4 separate regions of the Homo sapiens genome follow, and all the other regions are linked to region 3. Evidence: promoter capture Hi-C in 16 types of primary human blood cells and fetal thymus (Javierre and others, 2016). All regions are on one chromosome and are shown on one strand. The core of a region is centred on a gene start or on the middle of the fragment in contact, and the rest is flanking DNA. Distances in the headings are between cores, read along the strand shown. Region 1 holds the start of LRGUK (leucine rich repeats and guanylate kinase domain containing). Region 2 has its middle 7.5 kb from the start of SLC35B4. Region 3 holds the start of CHCHD3 (coiled-coil-helix-coiled-coil-helix domain containing 3). Region 4 holds the start of BPGM (bisphosphoglycerate mutase).

The links. Contacts are between HindIII fragments. The CHiCAGO score rates a contact against its expected background, and 5 or more counts as called.
Region 1: a contact is called between the fragment with the promoter of LRGUK here and the fragment with the promoter of CHCHD3 in region 3, in 11 of 17 cell types (total B cells, fetal thymus, non-activated CD4 T cells and 8 more). The highest score is 20.4, in total B cells.
Region 2: a fragment that was not itself captured here is called in contact with the fragment with the promoter of CHCHD3 in region 3 in 1 of 17 cell types (non-activated CD4 T cells); the score reaches 7.4 in non-activated CD4 T cells.
Region 4: a contact is called between the fragment with the promoter of BPGM here and the fragment with the promoter of CHCHD3 in region 3, in 1 of 17 cell types (monocytes). The highest score is 6.2, in monocytes.

What each region holds. Positions count from the first base shown.
Region 1 is chr7:134,126,021-134,128,589 of GRCh38, reverse strand. LRGUK (leucine rich repeats and guanylate kinase domain containing) reads right to left here and starts at 1,250. Exons shown (of 20, transcript NM_144648.3): 1 at 926-1,250. The coding sequence starts at 1,222. RefSeq lists enhancers at 968-1,237, 1,348-1,397. The HindIII fragment of the contact is 1,507 bases long and covers 834-2,340 here.
Region 2 is chr7:134,320,601-134,328,239 of GRCh38, reverse strand. No RefSeq gene overlaps it. Among named protein-coding and RNA genes, the nearest start is that of SLC35B4, 7.5 kb to the right of the region's middle. The HindIII fragment of the contact is 935 bases long and covers 5,213-6,147 here.
Region 3 is chr7:133,078,830-133,085,874 of GRCh38, reverse strand. CHCHD3 (coiled-coil-helix-coiled-coil-helix domain containing 3) reads left to right here and starts at 3,785. Exons shown (of 8, transcript NM_017812.4): 1 at 3,785-4,018. The coding sequence starts at 3,938. It also overlaps the pseudogene RNU6-92P. RefSeq lists enhancers at 3,503-3,612, 3,823-4,002, 3,418-4,052. The HindIII fragment of the contact is 4,501 bases long and covers 2,585-7,045 here.
Region 4 is chr7:134,642,911-134,650,550 of GRCh38, reverse strand. It overlaps BPGM (bisphosphoglycerate mutase), which reads right to left and starts at 3,698. Exons shown (of 3, transcript NM_001724.5): 1 at 3,614-3,698. The region is part of intron 1 of LOC124901750 (a long non-coding RNA gene); the gene reads left to right. RefSeq lists a silencer at 60-354 and enhancers at 3,362-3,471, 3,572-3,721. The HindIII fragment of the contact is 1,395 bases long and covers 2,978-4,372 here.

The sequences.
Region 1 (2,569 bases), core at 1-2,500, 1.0 Mb before region 3:
GACAAAGCCAGACTCCATCTCAAAAACATAAACAAAATAGAAAGGAAGCAAATTAAATTACGCTTTTGAAAGAAAGCAATTTATTAGAAGCCAAGAGAAAAGAAGTGATGTGATGAGAAGTGGAAAAGGACAAGAAGACAACAATGGACTAAGAAAGGAAAAGGACCATAATAAGCATAAGAAAGAAGAGGAATTGTGTGGTGGTCAGAAGAGATATTGTAGAAAGGAGGGAATGGCAGTCATGTGAAACGCGAAGCCGCCATCCCAGTCAATATGGGTGGGATGATGGGAACATTCCCCACATCCTAAAATATTCCCACAATGAGCTGGCTGTTCGAACATTATAAGGCTCTTTTCTGGTGTGTGTGCATGTTGCTTGTATAAGGCATATGCCCCCGACAGAAGTAATGTATTCAACTTTTAAGTCACTTAGTCTTTGAAGAAGCACTTTCAAAAGCGGATTTTTTTTTTTTTTTTTTTCCTGGAGGGAGGCTGACGGGACTAGAACTGAGGAAGAGTGTGGAAGTATGTCATAGCCATGGGCAACAGGTGCTGGCAATGTCAGAGATGAACTCTGCCTATTCACAATACTGTCAAAGTATAATTTTGAAAAAGCTAAAGCCATAATTCCCAGACAATTATCTAGACACTCTTACAAAGTGACGCTGTGTTAACTCGACTCATAAGAAATCAAATGTGTTAATGAAAAAAGAAAGGAACTATTTAGAGCTATTTCAGGCAGGGGGTGAGAAAACGGGGTAAAAGACAGGGGAAGAAAAGAGGGGGAAGAGGCGTTCCTGGAGGCGAGAGAGCCTGAGAAGGTGTGGGAAGCTTCGGGCTGGTGGGGGTGCATCGGGGAGCTGCCGCTGAAGTAACAGGGCTGGACGAGGGAGCCAGGGAGTACGGGGTGGGGGGGAAGACACACCTCCAAATTCAGCATTTCGGACTCTGAGGACTCCTCGGATCCCGCCTCGCCCTCGCCCTGGTCCTCATCTCCGTCCGAGTCCAGCTCCTGATAGCGGTGCATGAGCTGCTGGAGCAGGTAGGAGGAGGCTATGTTAGAGCTGCCTTTCGTCTTCTGCCCCATGGGAAAAGACCAGCAAGGCTGACGCTCTTTTTCTGCGCGAAACTGTAACGATCGGGCTCCAGTTCGGGATCTGCCCAAGCCTCTCAGGAGAGAGGCAGCTCTGGTCCTCAGGAGAGCCCTCTCGGAGGTCGCCATCTTGTTTAGCGGGGTTGCCTAGGAGACTGACCCCAGGCAAGGGGAACCGCGGAGGATTCTGGGGCCTGTAGTCTCCTCCGCGCGTACTCGCCTTCTGCAGGCGGGGCAGTGGGCGCTCCACTTGACTTTTCTTTTTCTCAGTCTCTTCTGTTATTTTTCTCTCTTTGGTCTGTTCTGTTCGCTTATCTTTCCTGTTTTCACCTCTTTTCGCTACACCCCCTTTCTTTGTCTCCAGCTGTTTCCTCCCTACCCTGAGACCCCTCTTAGAGCTTTGTCATCCCACGATAGGATCGCAGGTGCGCCACCGTTGCCGCTTCATTCCCAAAGGGCTCTTTCCGCAGAGTCGTACTTTAGAAGTGTCTAATGTCTCTAAAGCAGTCTGTAGGAAAGCTAGTACCACTGAAATTTATGCAAAGCGCGACGCTAGGAGATGAGGGTGCATATAAGTGAAATAGAAGGCATGGTTCCTGTCCTTATGATTTAATTGCAGATAATAAAGAGAAACTACCAGACGACGCCTGAGAGCTGATTTCCAATTAATTTACATTCCCCACCCCCACCCCCCAATGATAAGCCTTGTCCTTGGGGAGAAAAACTGGCAGTGGTCTTACAATCCAAACAGAGAGAGAAAAAACTGCTGTCAAATTGACACTGTATCTGAAAGCGTCTGAAAAGCTATTAGCATCCCATAAATAATTATATTAGTCAAGTGACCTGCATTGGCAATTATTTTAATCTTGTTGCACAGGCTCTCTTTGCAGTTAAAAAAAATACTCTTTCAAGATAACAAAGCACGATTTTATGCTAGTGTGATTTTATGTGACCCAAATCCCATAGCCTTAAGCTCCACAACGTCGACACTCTATAGAAAAGCAGAATGAAAATTATAGTAACTATTATTGCCATAGTGATGACAATAGAGATCCTTGCAGGGAAGTAGCCCTCATCCTTCTGGCCTTACAGGGCCTTTTCTGCACGCTTCAATGACAGCAGTTGCAAATACAAAATGATCCTGTCAATGGCTGTCAGGGGAGAAGGAGAAAAAATCCTTATGGACACCATCCATTGACGATTATCTTTCTCAGTGCTTGAGGGACCGTTAAAACTGACATAAAGCTTTCAGAATTACCTTCCTTCATTATCTTGCTAGTCATAAATGTAAAGGCCACAAGCAAAATATCTCTTTCTGCCAGGCTCATCTTGCTTTTTGCTTATTTCTTTTTCCAATAAGTAGAGATTCCTCCAAGGGAATTTTCCCCACCCTTACCCTCGTAGGGCCTGGCTTCGGCTAAGTGACATAGGGAAGAATCAGGCAGAAAGTGTAAAAATGCAAATCTCGATCGTTTT
Region 2 (7,639 bases), core at 4,431-6,930, 1.2 Mb before region 3:
AATAGTTGGGTACATAGAAGTGACAAGAACATACCCTTGCCTTCACAGAGGCACGCTGGCTCATACACAAGGGTGTGGTGGGGGCAGACGAGCAAGAAATGATTTCAATACAATGTGTTAAGAGGCCAAGGGGGAGTACAGGACACTAGGGGGCACTGGAGGAGCATTGATCAGTCTTAGGTAACAGACGACTTCCTGGAGGAAATGGGGGCTATTTCATATGAGGGCTCTTAGACCATGGTTCACCCAATGGCTCGGTAAGAATCAGCACATTGCAATAGGGGATGCTCAAAACCATGGCGTTGAGTACACAAACGAGGATAGCCAACATTCAATATATCATACTTGATAAAGCAGGGGATTGCATGAAGATTTCCATTCAAAATTGCTTTAGTACAAAAAATTTCAGTTCTAAAATCAACATGTTTTCTGGAAGTTCTTGGTTAGTTGGAATGAGTTATTTCCTAATGATACTGCATCTGTGGGGAATTACTGTAGGCTGTACTTTTCAGACAATATATAAAGTATACGATAATAACATTTTATATTGTACTTAAGTATTAAAATATCTGCTTTGGTGTTATTTGTATTTGAGGTTTGGATTTTGTTTAAACTATCTGGTTATAGGGAGATTTGGAAAGAAGAATCCTTGGCTGCAGGAGTTCTTTGAAAGCTTGTACTATCAATGCTACAGTTATGAATCTAAGGCATGTCAGTCAGTTAACCTAAGTTTCATAGCCAAGCAAGGGCCAGTTGTCCATGTGTTTAGTTTACTCAAAAGTATGTATCATGATATTCAATGCAGTGCTGCCTGTTAGAGCAAAAGATGGGAACCAACCTAAAGATTCAATAACAGGGAACCAGTTAAATAAAAGATAGTATAATAATAAATGGAATATTATACAGTCATTAAAAAGAACAACACACTACTAATATAAATATTCTCTAAGATCTATTTTTAAGGAAAAAACAGCATGTGAGTGAAAAAAACTACATATTTTGTAGAAAATGGAAGAATGTACAAAACACTGGTGACACTGGTTGCTTCAAAATGGGAGCAGTGGGTTATTGGGGCTCAGGAAAATTATTTTACACTAGTATCCTCTAGACCTTTTGAATTTTGTACCCTTTGTACATATTACAAATTAAAAGTGTCACCAATCCCAAAAGTAATTTGTCGGGGTAAGCTGGTGGAGTGAATGAGCTGGTATCAAATGAGGGTGTTAAAGAGCTGGCTCATCCTTTTCCTGGCTCTGTCACTTAGGACATTATCGGGGTCATAAGCCAGCAGCCTAGAGAAGAAATCTGGCTCAAAGATTGGTGTATGCCATGCCTTAACAATGTGAATTTGAAGGACTTAAATAGACATTTCTCCAAAGAAGATATACAAATGACCAATACCCACGTGGAAAGATGCTCAACATCACTAATCGTTAGGGAAATGCAAATCAAAACCAGAATGAGATGCCACCAAGCACTCACTAGAATGGCCACCATACAAAAAACAGAACATAGCGAGTACTAGCAAGGATATGGAGAAAATGGAACCCTGTGCACTGTTGGTAGAAATATAAAATGGTGCAGCCACTGTGGAAAACAGTGTGGAGGTTCCTCAAAAAATTAAACATGGAACTATCATACGATCCAGGAATTTCACTTCTAGGTATATCCCCAAAATAACTGAAAGAGTTTCAAAGAGACATTTGTATCCCCGTGTTCATAGCAGCATTATTCACAATAGCTAAAAGGTAGAAGCAACCCAAGGGTCTGTGGATGATGAATGGTTAGACAAAATGTGTGCTATGCATAGAGTGGAATATTATTTTAGTCTTAAAAAGGAAGGAGATTCTGACATACGCTATCACATGGATGAATCTTGAGGACATTATGCTAAATTAAATAAGTCACTAAAGGACAGATATTGTATAATTTCACTTATATGAAGTACCTAGAGGAGTCAGATTCATAGAGGTAGAAAGTAGAATGGAGGTTTCGAGGGGCTGGTGGGAGGCAGGAATGGGGAATTATTGTACAATGGGTGCAGAGTTTCAGTTTTGAAAGATGAAAAGAGTTCTGGAGCTGGATGGTGGGGATGGCAGCCCAACAGTGTGAGTGTATTTAATACCACAGAACCTTACACTCTAAAATAGTTAAGATGGTCAAAATGGTTATGTTATGTGTATGTTACCACAATGAAAAATAATGTTGAAAATGTAAATTCAAATGTATTCAGACAGAGCTTACACTTTTTAATTCCCCAGCAAAACTCCTATGATTTATGGCCAGTTTCACACATTTACCTTAGAAATCAGTTTTACCCACTTTACCTTACCTGCCCAGCCTCATGCATTCACACCAGTGAGCCTTGGAAAATACATTTAATCATATTTCTCCTAGAACTAATAATGCCTATCTGCTTCATATGATTCATGTAGGAGGTAGACTAGCTCTGTATGGGATCACTTTATAAGCTGAAACTGTCAGAAACTGAAATGTGCTGCATTTACTTCCTGGAACAGCAGATCAAAGCACATGCTTGGTACATGGGTTAGTAACATCTTCCCAGGCACCTAATGCCGGAATCAGAGGAGAAAGGTGGCAGTCAGAGTAGGAAAACTAAATGATCCCATAGGTTTGGTATTTTTTCCCTTAAGATATTATCAGTTGGCCAGGCACAGTGGCTCACCCTGTAATCCCATCACTTTGGGAGGCCGAGGCAGGTGGATCACGAGGTCAGGAGATCAAGACCATCCTGGCCAACACGGTAAAACCCCATCTCTACTAAAGATATAAAAATTAGCCAGGCATGGTGGTGTGCGCCTGTAGTCTACTACAGGTGCTACTTGGGAGGCTGAGGCAGGAGAATGGCTTGAACCCGGGAGGCAGAGGTTGCAGTGAGCCGAGATCATGCCATTGCACTCCAGCCTGGTTAACAGAGCAAGACTCCGTCTCAAAAAAAAAAAAAAAAAAAAAAGATATTATCAGCTATACAAGGCAAGGGGGTAGAGGCACAGTGGAAAAAAACTTGGAGACTTCTCACACTTGACATGAGTGAAGAACTGAGAAAACTTGATTATTCGACATGATTCTTTTTTTTTTTTTGAGACAGAGTTTCGCTCTTGTTGTCCAGGCTGGAGGGCAATGGCACCATCTAGGCCTACTGCAACCTCCGCCTCCCGGGTTCAAGCGATTCTCCTGCCTCAGCCTCCTGAGTAGCTGGGATTACAGGGGCAGGCTACCATGCCCGGCTAATTTTCTGTATTTTTAGTGGAGACGGGGTTTCACCATGGCCAGTCTGGTCTTGAACTCCTGACCTAAGGTGATCTGCCTGCCTTGGCCTCCCACAGTGCTGGGATTACAGGCATGAGCCACCGCGCCTAAAGGTGGTATAAACAGTCTCATTTCCTCAGTTAGATTTGCCACCTCAGTTCAATAATATAATTTAACAAACATCTTTTCAGCAACAATAAAGGGGAAAATGGTACGGTACTTAGATAAACGAGCTCTGGTACCTGCTGTTCAGGAGCTCACCCACAGTCATGGGCACTAAGGTTTGTTTCTTCGGGGAATTATTATTTTTTCTTTTTTAATTAAATTTTTTATTTTTATGGATTTAGGGGATACAATTGCAGTTTTGTCACATGGATATATTGCATAGTGGTGAAGTCTGGGCTTTTACTGTACCCATCACCTAAAGAGTATACATGGTACCCATCAGGTAATTTCTCATTCCTCACCTTTCTCCTACCCTCTCACCCTTTCCAGTCTCCAGTATCTATTATTCCACTCTCTGTGTCCCTGTGTACACATTATTTAGTTCCCACTTATAAGAGAGAACATTCAGTATTTGACTTTCTGTTTCTGAATCATTTCATTAAGGCAATGACTTCCAGTTCCATCCATGTTACTGCAAAAGACTTGATTTCATTCTTTTTTATGGCTGAGTAGTATTCCACTGTGTGTGTATCTATACCACATTTTCATTATCCAATCATCTGTTGATGGATACTTACGTTGATTCCATGTCTTTACTATTGTGAATAGTGCTGCAATAAGCATACTAGCGCAGGTATCTTTTTGATATAATTATTTCTTTTCTCTGGGGTAGATACCCAGTAGTGGAATTGCTTCAAGAAATCTCTCTATTGTTTCATAGGGGTTGTACTAATTTGCATTCCCACCAACAGTGTATAAGTGTTTCCTTTTCTCTGCATCCTCACCAACATCTGTTGTTTGTTGACTTTTTAATAGTCATTCTGACTGGTGTAATTATGTGATTAGTGATATTGAGCATTTTTTTTCACATGGTTATTGGCTGCTTGCATGTCATTTTTTGAAAAATGTCTGTTTATGTCTTTTGTCCAATTTTATAATGGTTTTTTTCTTGTTGAGTTGTTTGAGTTCTTTGTAAATTTTCTTCAGGTAATTATTCGTACTTACTTTCTCTCATAGCAGGTACCATTTTCAAACGCTCACCTGTTTTGTTTATGAGTCCCTTAAAGAGTAGCTGGTTTTTTGAAAGGTCCTCTTCCTTCCTTCCCTGCTTTTTCTTTCTTTCTTTCTCTTTCTTCTTTCTTTCTCTCTCTCCTTCTTTCTTTCTTTTTCTATTTCTTTCTTTCTCTCCTTCCTTCACTCCTTCCCTCCAGCTGTTACTTACTGAGCACCTACTATAAGCCAGATGTCATCCAGATATGGAGGATACTGTGGCTAATAAGACAAAGCCCTTGTCCTTGGGCCACTAATATTCTGATCAAGAAGGTTTTCTTCCTAGCCAAAATGTCATACTCCCAAATTATAGTAATCTGAAAAAATATGTCTTCAAATAATGCCCTTGAAAATATTAGCATTCATAAGTCTATTAATATACCAGGGCATTGCTTGAATCTGACCTATGAAACAAACAACAAGAATATTTTGACTCTATGAATAATATCTGAAGTATATTTATAGTGCACAGCTCTAAATATCTCAAGATTTACATAATGCAAAGATGAGAAAATAATCATCATATGATAGATATAGAAAAGATGTTTTAAAAAATCAAATGACAGATCTCTGTAGGATTGGCAATTTGAGACTTATCAGGCAGTATTCCATCAGAGGTATATTATTTAATTTTTTGTCAACAAGTTGTTTAAGTGAATTTTACAAATGATTCAAAATGTGTCTGAGTGTCTAGAACTAGAAACAAAAATGGCTTTTAGAACAAGCTTGACAGCTTTTCCCACTGACAACACTAGGTCAAAGACAATGAACATTCCCAAAGTGATAGATCCTTCTTTATAAGGTAAGAGGACTGTGAAGAGGTTTAAACATGTTGAGCACAGCTGGTGTCTAAGAAGTTGCTATTCATTCAAAAATGTTAGAATTCTGAACTCAGGGTAATAAAAGAAGAAAAAAAGATCTGTGAGATGAAATCATAGCTATACTTCATAACTTTGGTTTTATGATAAAACAAAATGTTGAAGTCGGCATGACCCCCAAAAAAACTCTTGGATGTTCTAGTTGTCAATTTATGGCCTCTCCACTCCAAATCCACCCTTCATGGCCTTGTTTGGGATGCTGGAGCTTGACCCTGTGGACGTTTCTCCTCTGATGGGGAGCACAGTGTGGAGCTTTGTCACAGAGGGGGCTGCAGGGACACTGAGGGAGGAGTTCTGGTTCTGGTGTGCTTTCTTCCATGTTGCTCATGCAGTGCTCAGCCAGCATGTAGGATACCCTGGGGAATTCACCCTGGTGGACTAACTAGTATCCTCACAGCTGGTATCCAGAAAATTCTGCCAGAGCTCCACCCAGCTTCCTAGCAAGTACAAAACTTCCACCAGCAGCTTCTCAATGAGCTGACCAGTGCCCTACCTGGACCCCAGAGGATGACCCTAGGTGAGTTTCATCAGCACCTCACTGAACTTCTCTGCTAGCCAGAGGACTGCAGCACTACCCCCTTCAATGAGGTCTGAATCTCCATTTGGGGAGGAGGGGAGAGGGCCCTTTTCCAAATATGTTCTTTTCTTGGGTAGTCTGACTCAGTCTTATGTAGTGGCTACTCCTTGTATCTGCTATTCCCATAATTTGGGGAGTTCTTTTAATCCTTTATAGTAGTTTATCTTCTAGTTAATACTACTAGTTAATAATTCTTTATATTAAGCTTTCTTTGTTCAAATTACTATACAATTTTTGCCTCCTGACTGGACCTTAATTGATACGCTGATATCCAATAGAAATGTACAAAAGATATGTACAAGATATTTCACAGTAGCACTATTAATAATAGCCAAATTGTCCATCACCAGAGAACAAATAAGTTGTCGTATATTCATACAAGGAAATGTTATGCAGCAGTAAGAATAAATGAGCTACAAATACACAAAGAAATGTAGCTGAACTGACAACATAATGTTGAGAAAAAAAAAAGAAGAAACAAAAGAAATATACTGCATGATTCCATTTATGTAAAGTGCAAAAGCAGACCAAACTTATCTTTGGTGCTAGAAAGTCAGAATAGTGCTTGCCCTTGGAGGGGGTTAGTGATTGGAATGGGGCACAGGAGCTGCTGGAATGCTGGTACTCATTTATTTCCTAACCTGAGTATTGGTTATACACCACTGTTCATGCAAATTCACTGAGCAGTACATTTTTGATGTTTACATTGTTAAAATTAGTCAAGCTGAAAAATATCATGTATTCATGAGGTGTGAATTATTTGACTACTTCAAGCTGATTCATTCAGTCATTGAATAGAAGGTATATGCACATATTATGTACCAGTCACCATGTAAGATGCTGAGGATCTAGAGATAAATTAGTTATTTGTGGATTCTGTTCATCAAAGGCTTAGTCTAGAGGGGGAGACCAACATGAAAACAGATAACTACAGTGCAACATGATTAATGGATTAGTGGGGGTATGGAGGAGTGCTGGAGGTATAGAGAAGGGAGCCATGAATGGTTCATTGAAAAGCAGCCAGGAGCAGTAGCTCATCCCTGTAATCCCTGCAATCCCTGCATTTTGGGAGGCTGAGGCAGGTGGATCACCTGAGGTCAGGAGTTCGAAACCAGCCTGGCCAACATGGTGAAACCCCGTATCTACTAAAAATACAGAATATATATATATTCTGTATATATATATATATATATATATATATATATATATATATATATATGCCAGGTGTGGTGGTGAGCACCTGTAATCCCAGCTACTCAGGAGGCCAAGGCAGGAGAATCGCTTGAACTCGGGAGGCAGAGGTTGCAGTGAGCCGAGATCGTGCCATTGCACTCCAGCCTGGGCAACAAGGGCAAAACTCCCCCTCCAAAAAAAAAAAAAAAAAGGAAAGAAAAGCTACACACAGAAAAGTGACATCTTAGCACAGCACCTTCCTCCTGCACAATATAGAGGTATCCACTGACTCTACTGTCCTCTCTGGCCACCGTAAAAAGATGAACAGGAGTTGGCTAAAGAGAAAAGGATATTCCAAGCAGACAGAACAGCGTATGCACAGATAAGAATTTTGAAAGTTACTGTAAACTCAGGGAAGAGAGTGAGTTTATGTGGGTGGAGCCCAGGTAACCCTAGGGAGAGTGACACAAGGTAAAACCAAAGAGGTAAACTAAGGCTTGATTGTGATGTTTATATGCCTTCTACT
Region 3 (7,045 bases), core at 2,536-5,035:
ACGGAGAAAAACATGGAGAATCTGAGTAGCTGAAGTATTAGCTATTATTTTTCTTAGGGCAAAGCTTTGCATTCTAGCTCATAGGTGTCTGGCTAGTAAATGCTGCCTTTGGATTAGATGACTATTAATAAGCTGTAGCCAGAAAGAAAGGGAGGCCACAAGTTCTGGGTAGCTCAAGAAGGGATTGTATAGGCATGACTGGCCTAGAAATTGACATGGATAGAACAGTATTGTTAGAGAAGGCATTTTGTTTTAAAGAATACATTGAATTTTTTTTAAACTCAGAAGGCATCTTTGTAATGTTGGTTAAAATGCATTAGGATGTCTAAAACATTTTTGGATTGTCTGTTTGATTAGACCACTTATATGTGTTTGAATCATAAAACATGAAGGCACTCCACTACCTTCTCATGCTTGGCATTCATCATCTTTAATATATTTGGTTGAAAGAACTCTACTTAATATTCTAACTGGAGATATATATATATATATTTAAGACAACTAGTGGTTTCTTCATCTCTCTATTCTCTCCAAGGAACGCTTTCTTTGTACTTGGTTATTTTCGTAAGTGCTTGTTGAGCATGTGTGTTATATAGAACCTCCGATATGCCCTATATATTGGGGTAATAAGTGAGAGTGTGTTTGTGGAGGGGAGGGTCCCCAAAAAATGAAAGTCATAATTCCTTGGAGCTTTAGTTCCCAGTAGAAGAAAGAGTTAGGCTGGGCATGGTGGCTCATGCCTGTAATCCCAGCACTTTGGGAGGCTAAGGCAGAAAGGTTGCTTGAGCTCAGGAGTTTGAGACCAGCCTGGGCAGCATAGTGAGACCACAGCTAGGTGTGGTGGCACACACCTGTAGTCACAGCTACTGGGGAGGCTGAACTGGGAGGGATTGCTTGAACCTGGGAGGTTGGGGCTGCAGTGAGTCGTGATTGGGCCACTGCATTCTAGCCTAGGCAACAAAGCAAGACCCTCTCTCTCTCAAAAAAAAAAAAAGAAAAAAGAAGGAAACTTGAGAACAAGTACAAAGTAGCACGTAGTCTCATAACTGCAAAGTAACATAGTACAATTTTAAAAGAATATAATGATGAGATGTAATCAACACTCTGCTACTGACCAGGGATATAGAGATTAAAAAGACATAGTTTCTGCTCTAAAGATTCATACAGTAAGGTTGGGAGCGGTGGCTCACGCCTATAATCCCAGCACTTTGGGAGGCTGAGGTGGGAGGATCATGAGGTCAGGAGATGGAGACCATCCTGGCCAACATGGTGAAACCCCATCTCTACTAAAAATACAAAAAAATTAGCTGGGTGTGGTGACACGCACCTGTAGTCCCAGCTACTCCGGAGGCTGAGGCAGGAGAATTGCTTGAACCTGGGAGGCGGAGGTTGCAGTGAGCCAAGATTGCGCCACTGAACTCCAGCCTGGCGACAGAGCGAGACTCTGTCTCAGAAAAATAAAAGATACATACAGTAATAGATCAGCACATAATTGGATTCATACAGTAATAGATCAGCACATAATTGAAGCTCAAAAATGCGACTGCATTGTAGATGCCTTTGGCATAAGAGAATGCCATGGTGTGTTGTGGCCTGCTGCTTTTAATGTTGAGAGGGATTAATTGAAGAATAGTACCATCATTAACCTAATTTCTATTGAGAATCATCTGCCTCTGTAAAACTAAGGTCATATGGCTAAACTTATGTGTAACAGTGTGTTTAGCAAAAAAGAAATATGTAGATGAATAACCTAATAACTATGTACTGGTCTCGTAGAGGTGAAATGTTGAACTATTAATAGGAACTTTCCACAATAGATCATCTCAACTTTTCTGATGTAGTTTTAATTCCTCCACTAATTTATGCCATCTTTGGCAATCACTTAACTTTTCTCTGCCTAACCCTATTATGGCCTAACTTATGTAACTGAACTAGTAGTAGAAGGAGACACAAAAGTGGAAAGTAAATTCTCTACATACTTGGTGCAAATAATTTATTCTATGAAGAAATGTATTTTCTCATAGACAGGTTTGAAAACCATAGTACTTAAAATTTTACTTTACAAAAAGAAAAAAATACAGATACTAGTTCATGAGACAAGAGACATGGACCAAACACACGTTTACGTTTTTTATTTTTTTATTTTATGGCTACTACTAAAATGCCACCATTCATGTACTGCATAACAGTGTTTCAGTCAAAGAAGAACCTCATTTCTGGCAGTGGAATCATAAGATTATAATGGAGCTGGAAAATTCCTGTCTCCTAGTATTTACTATACTATGCTTTTTATCTTTAGGTTAAAGTGCATTCTTTCTACCTATATAAAAAAGTTAACTGTAAAACAGCCTCAGGCAGGTCCTTCAGGAGGTGTTACAGAAGGTGCTGTTATCATAGGAGATAGCTCCATACGTGTTATTGCCTCTGAAGACCTTTCAGTGGGACAAGATGTGAAGGTGGAAGACAGTGATATTGATGATCCTGACCCCGTGTAGGTCTAGGCTAATGTGTGTGTGTTTGTCTTAATTTTTAACAAAAATGTTTAAAAAGTAAAAAGTAAATAATTTCAAAAATAGAAAAAGCTTATAGACTAAGTATATAAAGAAAGAAATATTTTTGTACAGCTATATAGTGTGTTTGTGTTTTAAGCTAAGTGTTATTAAAGAGTCAAAAAGTCACAAAAAAAGAAGTTTATAAGTTTAAAAAGTTACAGTAAGCTAAGGTCAATTTATTCTTGAAGAATGAAAATATATGAAAATAAATTTAGTGTTGCCTAAGTGCACAGTGTTGATAAAAGGTACAGTACTGCATAGTTGCGTCCCAGGCCTTCACATTCAACTCCCCACTCACTCACTGACTCACTCAGGGCAACTTCCAGTCCTGTAAGCTCCATTCATGGTAAGTGCCCTATAGAAGCATACCATTTTTTATCTTTGATTTTTTTTTTAATGGAATGCTTCAGAAATTCATGTGTCAACCTTGCTCAGGGGCTGTGCTAATCTCTGTATTGTTCAAATTGTCCTAGATGTGTTGCCAAAGCAATCACTTTTACACTGTTTTTGCTGTAGCTTTTCTATGTTTACATATATTTGTACACACAAATACCACTGTGTTACAATTGCCTACAGTATTTAGTACAGTGACATGCTGTACATCTTTGCAGCCTGGGAGCAATAGGTTACACCAAGTAGCCCAGGTGTGTAGTAGGCTACACCATCTGGGTTTGTGTAAGTACACTCTATGATGTTTGCACAACCACAGATATCACAGGGTCACCTAACGAGGCATTTCTCAGAAGTAGTCTTCATTAAGCTACCCTACGACTGTAATGAAACGCTAAGTTTTGAGCCAGGAATTTGTGTATAGAACACTAGGAATGGCTTCATTAGTATCATGCATCTTTTTCATTAAACTGTGAGTCCCTTTGAGAGAAAGATTGTGTCTCTGAACTTAGTGGCCTAAATTTCTAGAATTATGTCTTCAAAAAGTTGCCCAGTTAGGCGTCTCTGGGGAGTCAAAACCACAACTCCCAGAATGCCGTGCTCCCTTAGCGCGCTCAGGCGCGGGGAGAGAATGTCCCATCACCCACCGCGCCAGATCGAGACCACAGTTCCCACTACACCCAGGGACTCCGCGGAAAGCTATCAAACACCACCTGTTGCCATAGCATCCGGGTCGGGTGAACCAATCCGGGCGCCCTCGCCGAACAGAGGCGGGCAGTTCGCATCGCCGACCAACCTGAGGCGTTTTTGTTGTGGCGCGTGACCGGAGGAGGCGGGAGCTCAGGACCGGCGCCTTCTCCTTGCTTCTGGGGGTCGTGGCCTTGCTCCCGCTGTGCGGGAAAAGAATCCAGGCCCTTCCACGCGCGTGTGGGTGCGGGGGCCCCGAAGTGCTCGTGGTTCCCCGCTAGGTCTCCGCTGGGGCAGGAACCGGAATCATGGGTGGGACCACCAGCACCCGCCGGGTCACCTTCGAGGCGGACGAGAATGAGAACATCACCGTGGTGAAGGGCATCCGGGTGAGTGCCCGTGGACGGGCGGAGGGCCAGTGGTTGGACTCGGACCCCAAGGCCCCATCTTCTCCGGACCCGCTCAGCCTGGGTTTCTCCCGTCCTGGACCCTAGCGTATTAAGGCCAGAAGCCCAGGTGTCTGGGAAGAAGCCTAGAGTTTCAAGACGTGGGACATTCATTCAGAGATAGTTCCTGGTTGTGCCAAGTGCTAGGCACTGCTGGGGCGGGCGGGGAATGCCAGGTTGAATTATACCCTGCAAGGGCTCACAGTCTACTCGTAACTGTACTGCTCCCTTGTTGCAGGACCGTATTTGAAACCCATACCTCGGTGTACTTGTCTGTGAAATGGTTTTCCTGGGTTCAGGACCCAAACCCTGCTTTTCCACTGTGCACACCCTGTCTCCCAGGGTGAATTGGCATTTTAAGGATTGCCTTTGCTTTGTGTCATTTAGTGCTCTCCCTCTGATAACACCCCCTCCTCCCACCCACTCCCCACACCCTGTCATCCTCCCTCCCAGCCCCACAGTCTTTTCTGACCTGCCTGGGGCGGCTTCTGGCTTCTCCCTGCTTCACTTTCACTTGATATCTCCTCTTTCCCAGGCGCCTCCTCTGTGACCTGCTGCGCCGAAGTTTTGGATTAGGCCCAGTTGCTTCAGGACTAGTGTCTGCCAGTCTGATAGGGGCTGAGATGGGTTTGCAGTTTTTCATACCAGTAGAAGTAATGTAGTCATTTCTGACCAACGTTGTAGAGCACTTTTTTTTTAATGCCCTTTGCATGCACCTGATACATAAACTGAAAACCTGGTTTTTCTCTAGGGTGTCAGTATACCAGCACTAACTTCATTAACACACTCTCCGCTGCGCCTGAATTTGGAGCCTCACATTTTTGGACGTATGATGCCTGAACCTAGTAAATAAAGCAATTTTGACTTCAGAAAGTTTTATAATAATTTATATATTTTTTTCTGTTATCAACCAGCGTAAATAAATTACATTTGTAAATTATTTTTAACAGTTGTTACCAGGAAATAAAACTTCTTAAATATTTAAAATGTTTAAAAACTTTTTCTTCTGAAACTGTTACCTTGAGAATAATTTATTAAACTTTTCTTCATAGAAACTCAGACTGTCGAACTCAGTTTTTGGTCTGTGACCAGTATTTCTTTATATCATGCTAATTAATGGTAGTACTACATTTTGTAATAAAATATCTGAGGCTGTATTCTTTGAGTTATTGTGTTTCAGTTAGTACTCTTTGGAGTAAAAAATTACTGTAAACTTTAAGTTTTATGCAGAGATTTTAAGACTCTTGCCATTAGGCTTTCAGTACGCAACTCAGAGTGAAAAATAATTAAAAGACAAAGCAAAATAAGTTTTGAGTGAGAAGACATTGGTTAGAAAAAAATGTATAAATCCATATTCTCGTGCTTTAGTACAGACACAGTGCTAACAGCAAACAAAATCGAAAGAGAATGTGGCCACAGCACAGAGATTCATATCAAGTATTAGATAAGGTTGGATGGAATAACTGTGACAGCAGGGATAGGTATTCTATTAAAATGGAAAAATTGTCTAAAAAACCTTTTTAAGATTTTTGTTTTTTAAAAAGAAATGTCCTTTGGTCATATAACTTGACAGCATTCCTCATTTTTTTCCTTTCTTATATAGTACATTTTACCTGTATTGCTAACAGTTCAAGCATGATCATTTTTACCTCTATGCTTTTCTTCAGAATATACCCTTCACCTGGAATGCCCTTGCGCTGGTCTCCATTGCTTCAAATCCTCCTTTTACATGAATGTTTTGCAATCTCTCTGAGCTTCAGTTTTCCCATCTGCAAAATAATGCAACTGAGTACATCCCTCAGATCTCTAATATTTTCCAGTCCTGAAATCCTGTGAGTCTGGTGGCACTGTAAGTTTCTTGTAGCCATACTTAGCCCATTGCAGTTTCCTCTAGAAGTGACATCCATTGAAGTATTGAGTACACAGAGGTCATTCTGATTTCTTTGAGCTCATGATCAAAAGAGTATCAACTTGAAATTAAACAGACCTCAGTTTAAATCTCAGGTTAGATATTTATTACTTAACCTGATTGCCTGTGTGATTTTTGTCTGGGTCTTTTGTAGATGTTTTTCAGTTGATCTTAGTATTTTTCTTGGCTTGAATTAAGCAGACATCAGTTTAAATCGCAGGTTAGTTATTTATTAGCCTGTGGCCTTTGACAATTGACTTCTTTTATTTCCTTATCCATAAACGGTAATACCATCACTTCCCTTGATTGGTTATTGTAAGAAGATGAGGTAAGGTATGTAAAGCACCTGGCACATTGTAGATTTTCATTAAAAAGGCAGCCATTATTATGATAGGGTTCCTTTCACATGCAAAGTTTTAAGATTCTTTGAAAGTGCTGTGCTGTGTAGTGGAAAGAGCATGTGCCTTGGAACCAAGCAGACCTGGGTTGGATTCTATCTCTGCCTCTCACTAGCGGTGTCGCTCTGGACAAGTCACTTTTCATTGTGTTTCCGTATTTAGTATTTCTGGACAAAGCCTACTTTGAGAATTTGACATAATGTATATCTAGCACAGTGTCTTGTACTTTGACAGTGTTTGCACTTGTGAATAATAGCTGTTATTAGAGCTGTTCAAAAGAATGGATATGTGAACTTAAGTGAACTTCAAATTTTAATAAAAATAAGAGCATGTTGTGCCCCAACAGGTGTACCTAAAAGGGTATGGACTGGGAAATGGGAGTCTTACATTCTGCCCTAATTGAGGGTGTTTTTTTGTCTAGGTCTGTTGTAGATGGTTTTTATTTCTTTATATTTTTCTTGGCTTTAAATAGTCACTTTGTTCCCTTCTGAGACATGGGGAAGGATAAGAAACCGCATTCTCAGTATGTCCATAAGCCATTGTTTTTAGCTTAGTTTGTTAGAACATGGTGCCGATGAGGCACCAAACTTCAGTTTTGAACTGCAGTTAGGTTAGTTCAGCTTGGCTGAAGAAAACGTTCCAACTTTGACCAGTTGTCTAGCA
Region 4 (7,640 bases), core at 2,449-4,948, 1.6 Mb before region 3:
TGGTCTATTACTTTTCCTAAGGCTTTGTAGAAACTTTTTCATCTGTACTTGCAGTTATAAGAACATCATTTTACAGGAGCAAATGTTACCACTTACAGGTGTTTTCCAGACACTAAAACCCTCTCATTCCCCAATCTTACATCTACTAATATTTCCTACTGATTGCTTGTTACAAGAATAACCAACCATACCAGGCAGATCCCTACTCATGGCGAAGAGATATACATATGTAATGAGATGTGCATTTGCTCAGGGCATGTTGCATGTTCCAGCCTGCATGGCATCACCACTGTGGACAACACCCACTCATGACGGACCCCTCCTTCCTATCTCTGGTCATTGTCTTCCCCAGGGTAGTAGCTTTTATCAACACAAACTGTGTCCACCAAATTCCAAAAGTCTAAAGTAAAAACAACCTAGATATGAGCCCAGCTCTGCTACTGACTGACAATGTGATCTTAACTTATTTAAATTCTTTGAACCTCAGGTTCCATATCTATAAAGATGAGGATCATGAAACTACTGTTCTCAGGGGGCTATCAGAAAGATTAAATGAGATTATGGTGAAGCACTCTACCAAAAAGTGAGAGGTAGAATGGAGCAGACTTTGACTAACTCATAAATAATGGCACAGATCTCAGGCCCGTCAAAGCAATCCTACCTTGCCGATGATATGAGCAGAAGCGAAAGCTGGGAATAAAGTAAAATGAAGGGAGGAATTAGAGGAGAAATGCTTAAATTAGGTGGTAGAAGGAGGAATGCAATCAAATATTGTGGGATGGAAGAAGGTGATGGTAAGATACAGTCTCAGAAGCTTACCAAGTACTAATATTCTGCAATCCAAATGCTTTAATGAAGTGGTTAACATTTAATTTATATTTTACAAAGTATGTTTTCCTCATATTTGTGGCTAAGTTTCAGCAGAAGGGTTTTGTTATTAAGTAATACTTTTTGTCCTGCCACCCATATAAACATCTTTCATATCAGATTTCATTCCAAGGATGTTTCAAGAAACCATTCGGTTCAAACACGTTTGTGACCTCTGTTCTTCAGGCCCCAGACACACAAAGATGAAGGCCAGGTGAATTTAGGTGCATCAATCATTACTTAAAATGTGCCTCTTAATCTCAACCAACCACAGCAGGCAAAAGAGGAAGAAAGACTAAAAGCTCTACCCAAACACTAACAGTAGTTGCTTCTAAGTGACATTTTTCTGCCACATTATACTTCGGTATGCTCCAAATTTTCTACAATAATCTGGTTTGGTTTAAATAGGAACACAAAAGAGTATATCCTTGTAATGGGGACAAAAATAGGAAGATCAATAAGACCTAGTATTTGCTAGCACAACAGGGTGACTATAGTAAAAAAAAAAACAATTTAATTGTAAATTTTCAAATAACTAAAAGAGTACAATTGGATTGTTTGAAACATAAAGGATAAATGCTTTTGGTGACAGCTACCCTATGTACTCTGATGTGATTATGCATTGCATGCCTATGTCAAAATATCTCATGTAACCCATAAATATATACACCTACTAGGTACCCACAAAAATTAAAAATTAAAAAACAAGAATATATCCTTGAAGCTGGGAACTTTTACTTGCTAATAGATGGTACAGAATTTACTGCAATGAGATTCTGCTTGTATACTAATAATTTTTACTTTAAAACAGACTTTAAATACAGAGTTTATATCTCAGATATAATTTAATGCAACATCTGCTTTCTAAAGATGCAAAAATCGAGATGGTAGGATCGCTTGAGCCCAGGAGGCAGAGGTGGAGGTTGCAGTGAGCAGAGATTGCGCCACTGCCCTCCAGCCTGGGCAACAGAGCGAGACCCTGTCTCAAAAAAAAAATGCAAAAATTAAGAGTCACAGTTGAAATGATTTGTTTAAGATCACACAAATAGTAACAGTTTCAGGACTAAAGCCAATGTTCTTGATTTCTAACTCAGAGCTCCTTCCACTATGACACTGTTTGAATTATGCTTCTCTGAAGTCCACCACCAACTGGGGAGCATCTGCGGTGTATGAGGTGCTACTGGAATACAAAGATGGCTAAGAAAGAGCTATTCCCTGGACTCACGGGAGGCAGTTCAAAAAAAAAGAAGGCCGGGCGCGGTAGCTCACACCTGTAATCCCAGCACTTTGGGAGGCCGAGGCAGGCAGATCACCTGAGGTCAGGAATTCGAGACCAGCCTGGCCAACATGGTGAAATCCTGTCTCTACTAAAAACACAAAATTAGCTGGGCGTGGGGGCGCATGCCTGTAATCCCAGCTACTCGGGAGGCTGAGGCAGGAGAATCGATTGAATCCAGGAGGCGGAGGTTGCGGTGAGCCAATATCGCGCCATTGCACTCCAGCCTGGGCAACAGAAGCGAAACTCCGTCTGAAAACAAAACAAAAAAAAAACCAAAACAAAAGAAAGAAAGAAAGAAAAAAGACAAGGCCAGGCACGGTGGCTCACGCCTGTAATCCCAGCACTTTGGGAGGCCGAGGCAGGCAGATCACCTGAGGTCAGGAGTTCAAGACCACCCTGGCCAACATGGTGAAACCCCGTCTCTACTAAAAATACAAAAATCAGCCAGGCGTGGTGGCCTATGCTTGTAATCCCAGCTACTTGGGAGGCTGAGGCAGGAGAATCACTTGAACCCGGTAGGCGGAGGTTGCAGTGAACCGAGATCGAGCCACTGCAGTCGCTCCAGCCTGGGCGACAGAGCGAGACTCCGTTTCAAAAAAAATAAAAAATAAAAGACAAATTGACATGAGTTCTGCTTTCACTATTAAAAAACCTTTAGTACCTACAGGTGAAACTTAGCTTTTGATTTTTCCCCTTCTTGGAAAGAGTCTGCATTTAGTCAGCTAACATTCTAGTACCACTCACAAGCTAAAGATCTTCCGTAATTTGCAAGGGAGGCAGTAGGGGGATGAGAGTTATAAGTTAGCTAACAACCAACTATTCTTTAAAGCTTAACTGTGAACTTAACTGCAATTATGCATTTCATTGACCTTCTCTAGTGTAATACCAGCTCGTCCCTTAGAAAAGAGGAAAATACACTTACGTTTTTATTTCTAGTGGTTCTAAGAACTTGTGATTTGGCTCCAGATTCCTACATGAAAACACTGCATATATTCACCTCCTTCTCTTTTCACCGCATTCGAGTTTTTCTGTCTACTACACAAAATGATAGATAGGGCCAGGTCTGCCAGAACCCTAAATACAGCGGCATCGCCCTGCTTCCTTCCAGGGGATCTTACTATTGGAAGGGCTCTGCTACACAGTACCTCAGACATCCAGAAGAGAGTTTATCTTCCCTCCAACTTCTATATATTCTTGCCATAAGGACAGCACTACCAAAGCGGGCTCCTCCTCTCAGTTGACAGAACGGTGACTGCCTGCGAGGCTCATTCTGAGATAGGGACAAGGGAAAGGGACCGGGGCGATAAGTGAGGGTCCCAGCTTGAGGGCTGGAGTGGGCACCAGACTCCCACCAACGACTAAACCGGGGGAAGTAAAGAAACTGGCCTTCCCCGCACCCAAAAATAAAACATCACATCACTAAAAAATGTAAACGTTCGCAACATTTTCTAAAACAAAGCCACTCACCTGCAAAGGGGCCACCAGCAGCAGCAGCAGCAGCAGCAGCCGCTCCTCCGAGCCGCCAAAGAGCCAGCGCCTCCTAGGACTCATCACTGCCGCCGGCATCGACGCTCTTTTCTAGCCCCTGAACCAGACGTGGGCAGGTCCTAGGGCTCTGCCTATTGGAAAGTCGAACTGTCACTCATCCACGGTCCCGGCCTACTCCCGGAACAGGAGAGGTCTCTTCCGTTTACCAAATCCCAGGAGTAAGAAGTGGGGCTCTGATTGGTTTACTCTAGAGACGAGCACATACCTGAACCAGTAAGGAGTTGGCTTCGACGCCAGCGGGCAGGCTTGGGCCTAGGGAAGTAGAAAAACACACCCTAGAGCGTCGCTGGTGCAAAACCTCGGGTGCGGGGAGCATCTTAGCTGTTTGAGGTTCTAGAAAGCGTTTAACGTCTTAAAAGAAACACCTGCGGGTGAAGACAGGTGTCAGCGGACTCTTGGAAGAGAGGAGGTGATGTTTCTTTTACTTATGGGAAATTTAGGGATTGAAACCTGAAGACGAAGCCGAGGTATCCTCCCAGAAGAAGCTCCTTTCGCACAAATTACTCGTGGTTGAAAGTCTTAAGTCGTGATTAAAACAAATGCCTTTAAAGTGCCCAATTTATAGGCAGTAACGCAACCTTACTTTCTCTTACCGCTTTTATAGGGATTCCCCTAGGCAGTTTGCTGACAGTATTTTAGGTGGGGAAGAAAAGTGATTAATGGAATGCCCTAAAAGCTTATTGCACAGAGGAAGGGAGGCTAGAGTGGAATGAGAGAATGACAAATTTGGAGGCGACAATAACTGAACAAGAGAAATCTATGAAAACACCGGAAACCTGGCACGAGGCCTTAAAAGCTTCTAAGCAGGCTTGAACTACCACACGAGGTTTTGAAGCATATGTGTCAGAACTCTTGGGTGGGCGGGAAAGATAAGGAATGTTATGGGAGATTCCCTTCTTAGAAGCTATCCTAAGTAGTGTTTCGTGTCCTCCTGTGAGTTTTTCCTGTTTCATCCTCCTAACAAATGCATTAGGTTTGTGACACGCAAGCAAGTCCTCAGAATAAATTATACATACAGTTGAAAAGATAATCTTTCCACATTTGAAATTCTGTGACACACTCTTTATTGAACTCATTAAGACCTAATCGTAGCCAGTTCTGTATCTCATTTATCCATGTTAGAGCATGACAGTTCCTCCTGGGATATCAACAGAACTTTACTTCCGGGACGGCACTAATCCGAGGCTTGACAGGTCCCAGCAGGTGATAGGTCTCACCTAGTGATAGTTAGAATTTAACTTGCACAAGATTAACTAGAGTTCAGGCCAGAACAGCTGGAAGGGGCAGCTTCCAAATCTTATACATTTGCCCTCTTGCTTTTTTCTCAATATCAGTTGAGGACAAAGTAAGGAGAAAGCTTTTCTTCTACAGTGTAATAAAGCTCCTATTCAGAGTGCCCACCATCCATACTCCGGAGGCTAATGACAGTCATTACCAAGTGACAGTCTTGTGGCATTTGGCATTTAGGGCTACTTAGTCTGGACTTAAGGGCGCCTACTCATTGGATTTAAGTTTACTGTTGTTATGGACACCCATGGAATGCTAGCTTGTCACATAAAACCTTAATATCAAACATCACTTGCCTTTTAGAATCATTCGCAAGAGTATGTGGCTTATGAATGAGTCATTTTGATATAAGATGGAAGCTTATATCAGTGATTCTGTCTAGAAGGAATTAAAAAGCAGATTTTCATCAGGAGCAAGCATGTTTGTAAGACAAATGTGCACAGAGGCTAACAGAATTTCAGGAGTTACTTTTGCCCTATGGCAAGATTGTTCTCCATACTTAATTATGTTACAGTATCATATCCTGAACCCTGTGTCCTGGTCTATTCGATGAGCTGTCTCTCTTATGAATTTTTAAATAACGAGGTCGTGGTTCACAAAGATGATCATAAATCCATTTAAGGCAAAGATGAACTCCAAAGAATATTAGACTTGTACAAACTTAGTACTTGACAGGGCTTTGGAAATTAAACTCTAGCTCCTTGTTGTACAGATAAAGAAACTGAAGCTTAAGTGATGTGCTCAGAATTACTTGGTTGGGGACAAATCCTGGGCTAGGACCCAAGGTTGCTAATTCATATAATTCTGGGAAGATGCTTCCTCTTCCTGCTGCCTTCTCCTCCTCACCCCAAAAGCAATGTATTTTTTAAATTAAGATTAATTTTAGGATTCACTTCCATTGAAGACCAGTCATGAGGACTTCAGTTCTGATACAGCAAGTGATATAGATACTATGAAAATAATTCAGTGTCATCAAACAGCTTTTGATGTAGTCTCACTTTTATCCAAACAAGAAATGAAAAGCAATAAATTATTATAGCTATGTTGTCTCTTTGTCTTCCTTTCTGTTACAGGTGTATATCAAAAAGTCAGTATTAACCCATGTGATACTTTGAGTTTTAGTTGAAAATTGTCTTCCTTGTGACCTGAATAAACCACTATTTTATTGATAGCATACATACCTGGTCAAAATAATTTCACAGTTATGTGCACAGAGCCTCTAGCCTTTTCCACGTATGGCTGAATTGGTCCACCGTGCATCAAAACATCATCCACGGACCTAGGCTATTCTCCCTTTTGCTAGCCTAGCAGAACCATTGGCTCCCTCCTTCCAGCAAACTCCAGAGTTAGCTAGTTCTATATGCCATGTACAGGAGTGTCTCCTTTTCTTCACAGTATCAGGACACACCATGAGTTGGTTATTTGCTGCCAGTGTTTAGTCTCCAACTGTACCCTACTTACTTCAGGGTCAGATTAAAATTTACCACTCGTAACCTAGTATAATAGACCTATGCGTGGCCCCCATCATTGACCTCCTAAGTACAAGACTCCCTTTTCTGAAACTAAAAACTGGAAATGCTGTTATGGGTCAGCCATCCAGACCTCTCAGAAGGGACCTTAAAGTCTGTCCCTTTCTTTCAGAAGTTAAAACTTAGAATCCTCATCTTCCTCACAGAGTAGGGTGAAGAATCATGGAGGCAGTTTTGGAATAGCTTTGCAATCTTTGAAGCACCTTGTGTCTGTCACTTTCCAGCACTGGGAACTCAGGGGCTTAATTGGACTTACAGTTCCATGTGGCTGGGGAAGCCTCACAATCATAGCTAACTCTAGAGTTTGCTGGAAGGAAGGAGCCAATGGTTTTGCTAGGCTAGCAAAATGCAGAATAGCCTAGGCAAATTGCTTGACCTCAGCCTCAGTGTCTTTATCTGTTAAACAGAGATAATACCCAAATCGCTAATGTGAAAATTAAGTGGGATAATGTGATGTGTGCCTGCCACATGGAAAGCATCTCATAAATGGTAGTTGTTATTCTTAACAATTATGGTAATGATAAATGTAAAGCATTTTACCTATTTACAAGTATTCTTATTCAAATTACTCAGTAAAGTCTTGGCATTGCGCTTGCCTCTTTTTCCTGCTCTCCACTCAAGTGGAGACCTGGACTCTTGCAGAGGGCATGAGACTGGGATTTCCCCAGCTATCTTGCAGCTACCCAGGGAGGTAATGGGCAGGAAGTGAATGCCAAAGAGGGTACAGACCCAGTGGCAGAGCCAGGAACCTCTGGTATTGGGAAGCCTGATCTATGTGAAATTCCCCTACAGTAAAACTAAACATTGACTAAGCACCTTGGCATAGGAAAAGAGCCAGGTTGATTTTTTTTCCCCACTACTTTCAGATCTGGGACAAGGATAGGGGAAAAAGGTAGAAACATGAGGAATCAAGAGAGGTGCTTTCCTCTTTTACAAATTCTCTACTCCACTAAGGAAAAACCCATGTTTCTTTAAATGCTTGTTGTTTATATGCTGGTAAACACAAACTCTGCCCTATGGAGTTTTTTTTAAAGCTTATATTTATTAATTATAAATTTATGTTTTAAAATGTTTATTGTATAAGGTTTAGAAAAGAAAAAACTTAAAATACCTATAATCCCACCCTCCAG